Regions from separate parts of the Homo sapiens genome. Here region 1 is linked to region 2. Evidence: promoter capture Hi-C in human tissues and cell types (Jung and others, 2019). All regions are on one chromosome and are shown on one strand. The core of a region is centred on a gene start or on the middle of the fragment in contact, and the rest is flanking DNA. Distances in the headings are between cores, read along the strand shown. Region 1 overlaps BUB1B (BUB1 mitotic checkpoint serine/threonine kinase B). Region 2 holds the start of PLCB2 (phospholipase C beta 2).

The links. The method cuts DNA at HindIII sites, captures the fragments that hold promoters and counts their contacts. A contact is called where the count stands out against the background at its distance.
Region 1: a fragment that was not itself captured here is called in contact with the fragment with the promoter of PLCB2 in region 2 in 2 of the 25 tissues and cell types used here (lymphoblastoid cells and thymus).

The regions. Positions count from the first base shown.
Region 1 is chr15:40,182,475-40,187,207 of GRCh38, forward strand. It overlaps BUB1B (BUB1 mitotic checkpoint serine/threonine kinase B), which reads left to right. Exons shown (of 23, transcript NM_001211.6): 6 at 1,240-1,409; 7 at 2,691-2,905; 8 at 3,077-3,168. The region is part of intron 1 of LOC107984763 (a long non-coding RNA gene); the gene reads right to left. Among named protein-coding and RNA genes, the nearest start is that of BUB1B, 24 kb to the left of the region's middle. The HindIII fragment of the contact is 4,788 bases long and covers 1-4,327 here.
Region 2 is chr15:40,306,088-40,310,789 of GRCh38, forward strand. It overlaps PLCB2 (phospholipase C beta 2), which reads right to left and starts at 1,848. Exons shown (of 32, transcript NM_004573.3): 1 at 1,502-1,848. The coding sequence starts at 1,585. LOC112268152 (a long non-coding RNA gene) reads right to left here. Exons shown (of 3, transcript XR_002957721.2): 3 at 3,950-4,695. RefSeq lists a silencer at 3,978-4,181. The HindIII fragment of the contact is 11,638 bases long and covers 1-4,702 here.

The sequences.
Region 1 (4,733 bases), core at 684-3,183, 120 kb before region 2:
TGGTTCCACTGTCAGTTCAGTTTTCAAGACCTTTGCTGTGTTGCTTTGGGTCTGTCCCATGCATGTCCTGCTTAAGGGTTAATCTGGGGCTTGGGCAGTGGTTTATATCATTGTTCAGTTCTCAAAGCCTTTTCTGTGCTGCTTTGAATCTACCCTGTGCATGCATAGCTCAAGAGGGAACCTAAGATGTATGCCAATTCACATACAGAATTAGGAGATCCTCTTGTTCAGCTCATTCCTTTGCAGTTCTCCTCCCATATTCTTTGGCCTTCAGAGTCCTCTTTTCCCAGTCCTCAGGCCAGAAAGATGGGGTTTCTCTGAGTTTTACATTCACATACCACCACTGCAACAGTTCAAAACCACAAGAGAAAATAGAAGAATAAAAAAACAGGAAACAATCCTGCGTGGGTTGTTTCTTCAAGTTTTGACCCCTCTCCACAGTCTGCTTGCTTTTGTTGACTTTTCAGAGCCCTCAGTTAGTTGCTTTTTTTGTATATGGTCTATAGTTTTTAATTCCTATCAGTGAGAGAAAGAGAAAAGGTACAGTGGGCATACTCCATCTTGGCCAACACCTGCAATTTATTCTGGGTTTTTTGGGGTTTTTTTTACCCTTATGATAATACTTTTTAAGGCTAGTTAAATGAAGCAGTGGTAGGAATGGAGAATCTCTTCTGATAATACTTAAAACTGTGGCAGCAGCATAGGAAGTTTACTTTTCAAACTTCTGCCAGCTTTGCTAAAGTACAATGTCATGTCATATGCAACTTCATTTCATATAGGTCAGGAGAAACCGTATATGTGTGTGCGTGCACGTGCGCGCATGCATGTGTATAGAAAAAGAGACACAGTGATAAAATAGATGTGGCACAGTGTTAACAATTGGTGGGTCAAGTTTTCTAATAAAAAGTTAGTGGGAAAACTCTAATCTTAATAAACTCTGTGATCTTAGTCTTAATAACCCTAACCTGATCCTCAGATCAACTTAATGGTGATTTTCAGAATAATTTAAATTGGTCAAACTTGGGCATTTAAAGGGAGAGTTAAATAATTCTAGCCAAAACTTTTCATGATCTTAAGGTGACTCTCTTTACTTCTGAGAGAATAAACATGTTCTTTGGGATATTTCTGCATTCTTCCCCCAGCCTGCTCTTCTAATTTGTTTACTTTAACAAATTGGAAATTTTGAGTCTGGTAAAATAGTGGTCACCTCACTAAAAGTTGTGCATTCTGCTACTTTAGACAATTCCAAGCTCGAGTGTCTCGGCAAACTCTGTTGGCACTTGAGAAAGAAGAAGAGGAGGAAGTTTTTGAGTCTTCTGTACCACAACGAAGCACACTAGCTGAACTAAAGAGCAAAGGGAAAAAGACAGCAAGAGCTCCAATCATCCGTGTAGGAGGTGCTCTCAAGGGTAAGTTTGTTAAACGTTATTTCGGAAAACTGTTAGTTTCTAGTGGTAAAATCATGTAAGAAGATAATACATAAATATACCTGTGGACACTTCTAGTTTGCTGAATACTGAGTAGCAAAAAGAAGGAAGTCAAAGGAGAGCTAATATTACAGTGTGCAGTAAAATCAAAATGCATCAGTAATTTTGTGTCTTAATTAAGAAAGACCTAACATTTAGGAAGCATCAAGATTTTCTGAGTTTGAATTGTTAGTTGAAAGAAGATATGTAGTAACATAGCAGGTGTTGTTAAAGTGAAGCTTACATATACCAAAGCCTCAGAGAATGATACTAATATGGTTAAGAACCCTGCCTTCAGAGCCCTTTGGGACCAGAAATTAGACTCTCTATATACCCAAAGATCAGCAATAATTTTTTTTAATTAACATGGACTTTTTTTTTTTTTGAGAGATAGGTTCTCGCTCTGTTGCCTGAAACGTGGTAGTGCAATCATAGCTCACCGCAGCTTCAAACTCCTAGGCTCAAGCAGTTCTTTTGCCTCAGCCTCCCAAGTAGCTAGGATTATAGGTGTGAGCCACTGCATCTGGACAACACTGACTATTTTTTAGAGTAGTTTTAGGTTCATAGCAAAATTGAGCAGAAGGTACAGAGAATAATAAGCTTTTATTTACTAAATTTATAGCAGTTAGACATGTAAACCAGGCTGTTTTTTTAATCTCTTATTTCTTTCCTGGTATCAATTTATCAATAATCAGAATGTTACTTGGTGGTTCTAGAATTAGGATATAGGGAGTGTATGGTCCCAAAGGCTATTTCATCCAGATCATGATGAAGCTTGGTTAATAACCAGCCCCACAACAGAGAAAACCCCTAATAAATGGGTTAATTTTGTATTCTCTAGTTCCAGTATATCTCTGCTGATTTCCATTGAGAGAAAATTTAAAACTGAAGAATAAAACTTAGGTTAGTTTCTGATAAAACTAGATAATGTTATAATGATGACTGAAGGAAGATGCAGAATGTCTTTTTTGGAAATTTGTGAATAAAAGATGTGGGGTGACTGGAGGAGGGAAAAGAAGGCAGAATATAAGTAACAAAGAATGGATAAAACGATTCTATTTTTGATTTATTAATTTTTTTAAAGATTATTTTTAAAATTTCTTTTTTTTTTTCTGTTGTAGTGGAAATACTGTCCTTGAGTTGAGGAAGAATAGGTATACTTTATCTGGCATCTAAGTTAATAATGAAACATTTTACATGAGGTTTTAATATTTTTGCTCCTAGCTCCAAGCCAGAACAGAGGACTCCAAAATCCATTTCCTCAACAGATGCAAAATAATAGTAGAATTACTGTTTTTGATGAAAATGCTGATGAGGCTTCTACAGCAGAGTTGTCTAAGCCTACAGTCCAGCCATGGATAGCACCCCCCATGCCCAGGGCCAAAGAGAATGAGCTGCAAGCAGGCCCTTGGAACACAGGCAGGTCCTTGGAACACAGGGTAAGGACTCTTAGATCCAGTGCTTTGCTGACACAACAAAGACTTCACATTTAGGGTAGAGAAGTATTTTTACCATCTCTTTTAATTCCTCTTGAATATTTAGCCATGGTCTATATATGCTGTCTGAGAACATAAAACTATGGTAATTTTAGTTTTCTTCTTCATCTCCAGCCTCGTGGCAATACAGCTTCACTGATAGCTGTACCCGCTGTGCTTCCCAGTTTCACTCCATATGTGGAAGAGACTGCACGACAGCCAGTTATGTGAGTGTGGTTTTTGGATATTTTGAAGTGGGAATTATTAAGGGTGGGCAGAGGCACCTATTCTACTTCCCAAAGGCAGTTTCTTCTTTATGAAGATGAAAGTAACCAGGCCAGGCGCAGTAGCTCACACCTGTAATCCCAGCACAGGCTGAGGCAGGAGGATCCCTTGAGCCTAGGTGTTCAAGACCAGCCTGGGCAGCCTAGTGAGACCCTGTCTCTATTTATTAAAAAAAAAAGTAACCAGACAAAATTTTGTATATCCTTTATGTTTGTATTCCTTTGAGTATGTTAGGGTTAAAAGACCATTTGTTAATATTTTATTAAGGAATAAACATTAATTAGGTTTATATTTTCATTACTGAACATTGCTTTAGGAAAATCAATGGTGGCTATTCTGGAAGATGGATTGAACATACATAAATAAGCTATTGGAATAGTTCAGGCAAGGATATTAAGGGGCGGTATTTGGGCAGGGTAGTGGTAATGAAAGGAGAAGGGAGCTTGGATGGGAGAGGCTTCAGCAGTAGAGTTAGAAGATTTGTCTGATGGGATAATGGGGATGTAGGGAAAAGATAATGTGATTTAAATGAGACGTTCTCATTTTGTCATTGATAGTAATGAGAAATTATGATAGTTTTCCCTCTTATCCTGCTTTTTCCTTCTGGACATATTTTTCCTCTTTCTTCCTAATCCTTAGCATTTCTGTTTTTAAGAAAAAGTATAGTAGCTGGTGGTTAAATAAACAAGCCAGCCTGAGATTTAGTCTAATGCTTAACATTGCCTAGTTCTTTTTTTTTTTTTTTTTTTTTTTTTGAGATGGAGTCTCGCTGTGTCGCCCAGGCTGGAGTGTGGAGTGCAGTGGTGCGATCTGGGCTCACTGGAAGCTCTGCCTCCCAGGTTCACGCCATTCTCCTGCCTTAGCCTCCCAAGTAGCTGGAACTACAGGCATCTGCCACCACGCCCAGCTAATTTTTTTTTTTTTTTAGTGGACACGGGGTTTCACCGTGTTAGCCAGGATGGTCTCGATCTCCTGACCTAGTGATCCGCCCGCCTTGGCCTCCCAAAGTGCTGGAATTACAGGCGTGAGCCACTGCGCCCAGCCCTAGTCCTAATACTAGGTTGAATTCTGTCCCAGTGCAAGAGTTACCTCATAACTAATTTATAACTCCCACTACATGCTAGGAATGCAAAAATAATAATTAAGATTTTGAGCAAAAATTCTGCCTAAGTGCTCAGGACAAGGGGAAGGCTATTTTTTTTCTTTTTTTTTTTTTCTTTTTAAACAGAGTCTTGCTCTGTTGCCCAGCAGGCTGAAGTGCAGTGGCACCATCTCAGCTCACCGCAACCTCGACCTCCTGGTTCAACGGGCATGGCAGCCCACGTTTGCCATCCCAGCACTTTGGGAGGCCAAGGTAGGAGAATCACTCCAGGCCAGGAGTTCGAGACCAGCCTGGGCAACATAGCAAAAACCTGACCCTACAAAACAAATTTTTTTTTTTTTGAGACGGAGTCTTGCTCTGTTGCCCAGGCTGGAGTGCAGTGGCATGATCTCAGCTCACTGCAAG
Region 2 (4,702 bases), core at 598-3,097:
GAGAGCTTCTCCTACCAAATATATTGTAAAGAGGCCATGGGAGATGAAATAAAGTTGGGATTTGCTTACATCCTATGTATTCTGCTTATTCAACATGGCACAGCACACCCATGCCATCCACTAACTGTGCCAAAAGCAGCCTGAAAGCAGAGCCCTGTCTCACAGCAGCATGGACCTGTGGATAGGCTTGGGACATTCTTGCTTGTGCAGGTCAGGATCCAGAGAACATCCAATGCCCTACCTTGGAGAGGGGAAGGGAACAGCCAGGTACACAGGTGCCAGCTTAGGAAGAAGGACAGTCTCCGCTGGCCACCAACCCCCGACCTCCACTGCCACCCTGTGACCCTCTGCCCAGTCAGGTTACACACACTGCCCAGAGGAACTGAGAGAGGCCACTTCGCTTTTCATTCTGAGCCACTTCCCTCATTCCACAGGCTCCTGGGGCATGTCACCTCCATGCCACTGCCATGCTACACCAACCCCACATCACTCCTAGGGAAGCAGGAAGCATCTCACCACAGGGCCCCAACCCATAGTCATGGGCAGCGAGATCCCCTAGCCTAGCCCAGCCCCGAAGGGCCTAGACCCAGACCCCCTCATCCCACCTCCCATCAGGTGGACAAGTCAGCACTAAGGGCTGTCTTCCCTCCCCCACCAAGCCTTCATTTCCCTTCCTGGGACAAGCCCAGCACTCTAACTCTCAGACTGGGCGAGCCCAGCAGCCTCCCCTCCCTGAAGGAGAATCTCCATATTGTTCTCTCCAGCCTAAGAGAATCCCTGGCCTAAGGTAACATTTTCAGGGGCCAGGAGAACCAGAGCCTGGGAGCAGCCCCGTGTAGGAAGGAACAGACACAGCAGAGAGAGGGCTGCAGGGTGCAGCAGTGTCTTCCCCTTCCCTTGCTGACAGGCCTGCATCGGGGAGCAATGCTGAGCCCAGCAAGGGGTAGCAGAAGTCAAATCAGCTCCTTCCCTGGGAGCAGAAGCCTCTAGTTCTCACTTAGGTCCAGGGGCCTTTTGTGGCTGCCCCCACAGCAGCGCAGGGGAGAGCAAGGCTTCCCTGGACAGGATGATGCCCAGTGGAGGGGGTGAAGGAGCTGGGTCTGAGCGCCCTGCCGGAGCAAGGGCAAGACATCTGTGCTGGGAGCGGGGACGAGCTCACCTCTCCTCCTAGCCTGCCTCAGCTCTGGGGTGCACTTTCCTCCTCTTCTCTTGGGGGTTTGAAGGAGAAGAGAAGCAGACCCAAATAAACTACCTCCAGTGACCACCCAGGCAGCTCACCCACTTCTCACACCTAGAACCAAGGCTTAGCCCTTTAGCTGGGGACATACACCCTTAATCCCAGGTTTGTTTATCCAAGCAGTGGTGTCAGCTGCCTGGCCAAACCACACAGGCGCCTGGATCCTAGGAGACATAAACCAATCCTCCCACCCAAGCAAAGCCCCGTAGCAGCCCGGCCCCCACCACCTGGTGCTCCAGCAGCTGAGGCCCCTGCCCCACTTACATCATCCCATTTGATGAAGCGCTCCCCTTGGCTCAGATAGGCCTTCACCTTGGGGGGCAGCAGGACAGGGTTGAGCAGAGACATGGTGCCAAGCGTTCCTCTTTGCAGAATCTCAGCAGACACAGGCAGGCAGAAGGGCAGGAAGGAGGCCAGCCAGGAGGGGGAGCCAAGCTGGGCTCAAATGGCACCCATCCCCGAGCTGCTCCAGAAATCTAGTTGCTCTTATAGCCCCTGGGGTGGCCCTGGCTGAGTGCAGGACTGAGCTGTAGCCAGAGGCCCATCTGCCTTGTAAATCACCCTCCTCCCACCCGCCCTGCCTGCCATGGGGGCCTGTGGTCACTGCTTCTGCCCAAGGAGGCTGAAGCAGGAAGCCCCCGCCTCTTCTGGAGGCCCCCGCCCCCACCCCCAGCCCCACCCTGTGCCTCTCAGCACTTCCTGCTCTGGGCTTCCTTCTCTGCGCTGCTCACAGCGGAGACGTGGTCATGAGGCCGGGTCGCCTTGGAGCCAGGGCCTCTCAGTCCCTGTGGTGGTCTCTGGTCAGATTTGGCCCAGGAGGGCTGGAGAAGGACGACATGGAGACCAGCTGGGGAGACTGCTGCCCAGGCCTGGACTGAGGGAAGGCACAGGGAGCTCACTAGGAGAAAGGACCTCCTCAGGGGAAGGGTCCAGAGCATGGGCATCTGACCCCAAAGGTTGGGAGCACCGTAGAGGCAGGGGTGGGGTGGGGACAGGGCCCAGCTGGAATGGAGTGTTTTGAATAAGCAAAGTTTGCTGAACACACGGCTCCTCTTTCTCAATGCTTCCTCCCCCATGAAAATGAGGTGCACCTGCCGGGCGGGCGGGTGCGGTGGCTCACGCCTGTAATCCTAGCACTTTGGGAGGCCGAGGCGGGCGGATCACGAGGTCAGGAGATCGAGACCATCCTGGCTAACACGGTGAAACCCTGTCTCTACTAAAAATGCAAAAAATTAGCTGGGCGTGGCAGCGGCGCCTGTAGTCCCAGCTACTCGGGAGGCTGAGGCAGGAGAATGGCATGAACCCAGGAGGCGGAGCTTGCAATGAGCCGAGATGGCGCCACTGCACTCCAGCCTGGGCGACAGAGCAAGACTCCATCTCGAAAAAAATAAAAAAAGAAAGAAAATGAGGGGCACATGAGGCAAGGCAATCACTCCCCTCACCCACCTCACCAGACTCCCACCTCTGGGCCTCTGGGACTGCCTGAGGCCTGGACCCCCACTGAGCAGCCCTAGCCCCTGCCTCCACTGCGCTCTCCTCTCTCCTCCGTGTGCCCGCCTCTGCTGTGTACCCCAGCCTGCAGCGGGGCTGGGGCGGAGGGATGGCTGCTCTGGTTGGCCAGGCTCAGCCCCAGCTGCTCAGGTGCCTGACCCACACTCTGCCCCAGGCCCAGGGAGTTCAGCACCAGTCCAGCTCAGCCCAGCCCACTTCCTCTTGCCTAATCTGCTCCTCTTATCGCCCTTCTTAGCCCAGCCTGGGAGGCAGGGAGCTCTACCCAAGACTTCCTTCCCCTCTGGGGCCTGGCCTTTTGCCCTGGGTCACCCCCCCATGGGGCTTTGCATACCCCCAACAACGGTAAGACCCTCACCCAGGCCCTAGAATTGTCGCGGCTGGAGGTCTGGTCCAGGGCAGGGTGGAGGGTGAGGGAGGACACTCTTCATGCGGAATTAAGATAATAAACTGCCCAGTGGAGGCTGGAGCTAAGGGAATTCCCAGCACAGAAATAATCTGCAGAAGAGCAATTCTAGGGCCGGGGGATGGAGCCGGAGCAGGGCCTGACCAAGCCTCTGGAAATGGTAACAATTCAGAGGACTCTTCTTCCTCGTTTCCCCCAGTCCCTTAGCGTCATCTCTCCTCTCTCCCTCCCTCCAGTCTGGGGCCCTTCTGGGGGCCCCTCTGGCAGCCCATGCTGTTCTGGGTTCCTCCCTGGGATCAGGTTCCCTCGATATCTGTTTGAATGGATTTTGCAAGGGAAATCCCTGTCCCTTCCCAAAGCCCCTGCACCTGTCACCTGCGGCTGCCCTGGTCCCGGCACCCAAGTCCCTCCCTTTCATCTGTCCTGTAGCCATCAGCCCCCTCTCCACTTTGGGCCTGGAGAGACCAGTCCATTCCTCCCCCTCAGCCTGAGGAGGAAAGGGACAGCCTCCTCTCCTCATTTCAGGATTTCAGGGCTCCTCACTCTGTTCCTTTCCATCTCCAGCTCCGAATCCACAGAACAAAGCCTTGCCCATCTTTACTCAGTGATGTCACTGCCTGCACTGTTCTTGGGACCACAACTGTAGCTTCAGTGGGGGCCTGTACTCTCCTGCTCACATCCTGACCTCCTGCAAAGCTAGCTCCAAAAATGCAGAAAATCCAGGCAGTCAGGAGAGCGGAAAATCTTCATCAAAGAGCTTTTTGCTTTTAAAAATACATTTAGGTTTGAAAATTTGTGTTGACAAAGAAAAATGTTATGTAAATAATAGTAGAGAAAATCAGGGTAGTTACATGAATGCCCCGTTTGGGAAATGTGGCCTTGGGCTCCTGGGCTGAGCTGGGTAGAGGGCAACCCTGCAGTGGGCCAGTCTCACCCCTCCAGGGTGGGCAGTGGAAGGGCAAGGATGCCCCCTGCTGGGTGCACTCAAAGCATGCATGTCCTGGAAGTTGCGGTTGGGTCTGTCATTTGTGACCCACGGGAACACCTATGCCAGAGAGTTTGGCAAGTGGGAGCCTTGGGCCATAGAATGTGGTAAGAACTTATATTCAACCAAATGTTGCCTCCCACAAGGGACATGCTTGTGACCTGGACCCCAGCACATATGTCCCAAGTTCATTTGTTCACTTGCCAGTGCTATGTGGGAGCCCCATGCATTGGTTTCCCAGTTTGCTCATCAGAGAAGTTTAATGGCAGAAGTTGAACTCAGACCTTCAGGTGCCACAGCTGCCAGCCAAATAAGAGGATCAGACTAGGTCGGTTTCTTATCTGATGCCATGATGGTTGAAGCAGTGGGTTTCAGGAGTGTGGAACCCTGTTGTCCATCTTGGTCAAGGGCTGGCCCTCTTTTGGAGGGAAGATGGCTCTTATGGTGTCTGTTTCCCAGTCTGGCAAAGGGAGCCACACTCACCACTCTAGGAACCCAGCCACTTACTAGCTGGTTTATCTTGTGATACTTAACCTTCTTGGGCCTCAGCCTTCTCACCTGTAAA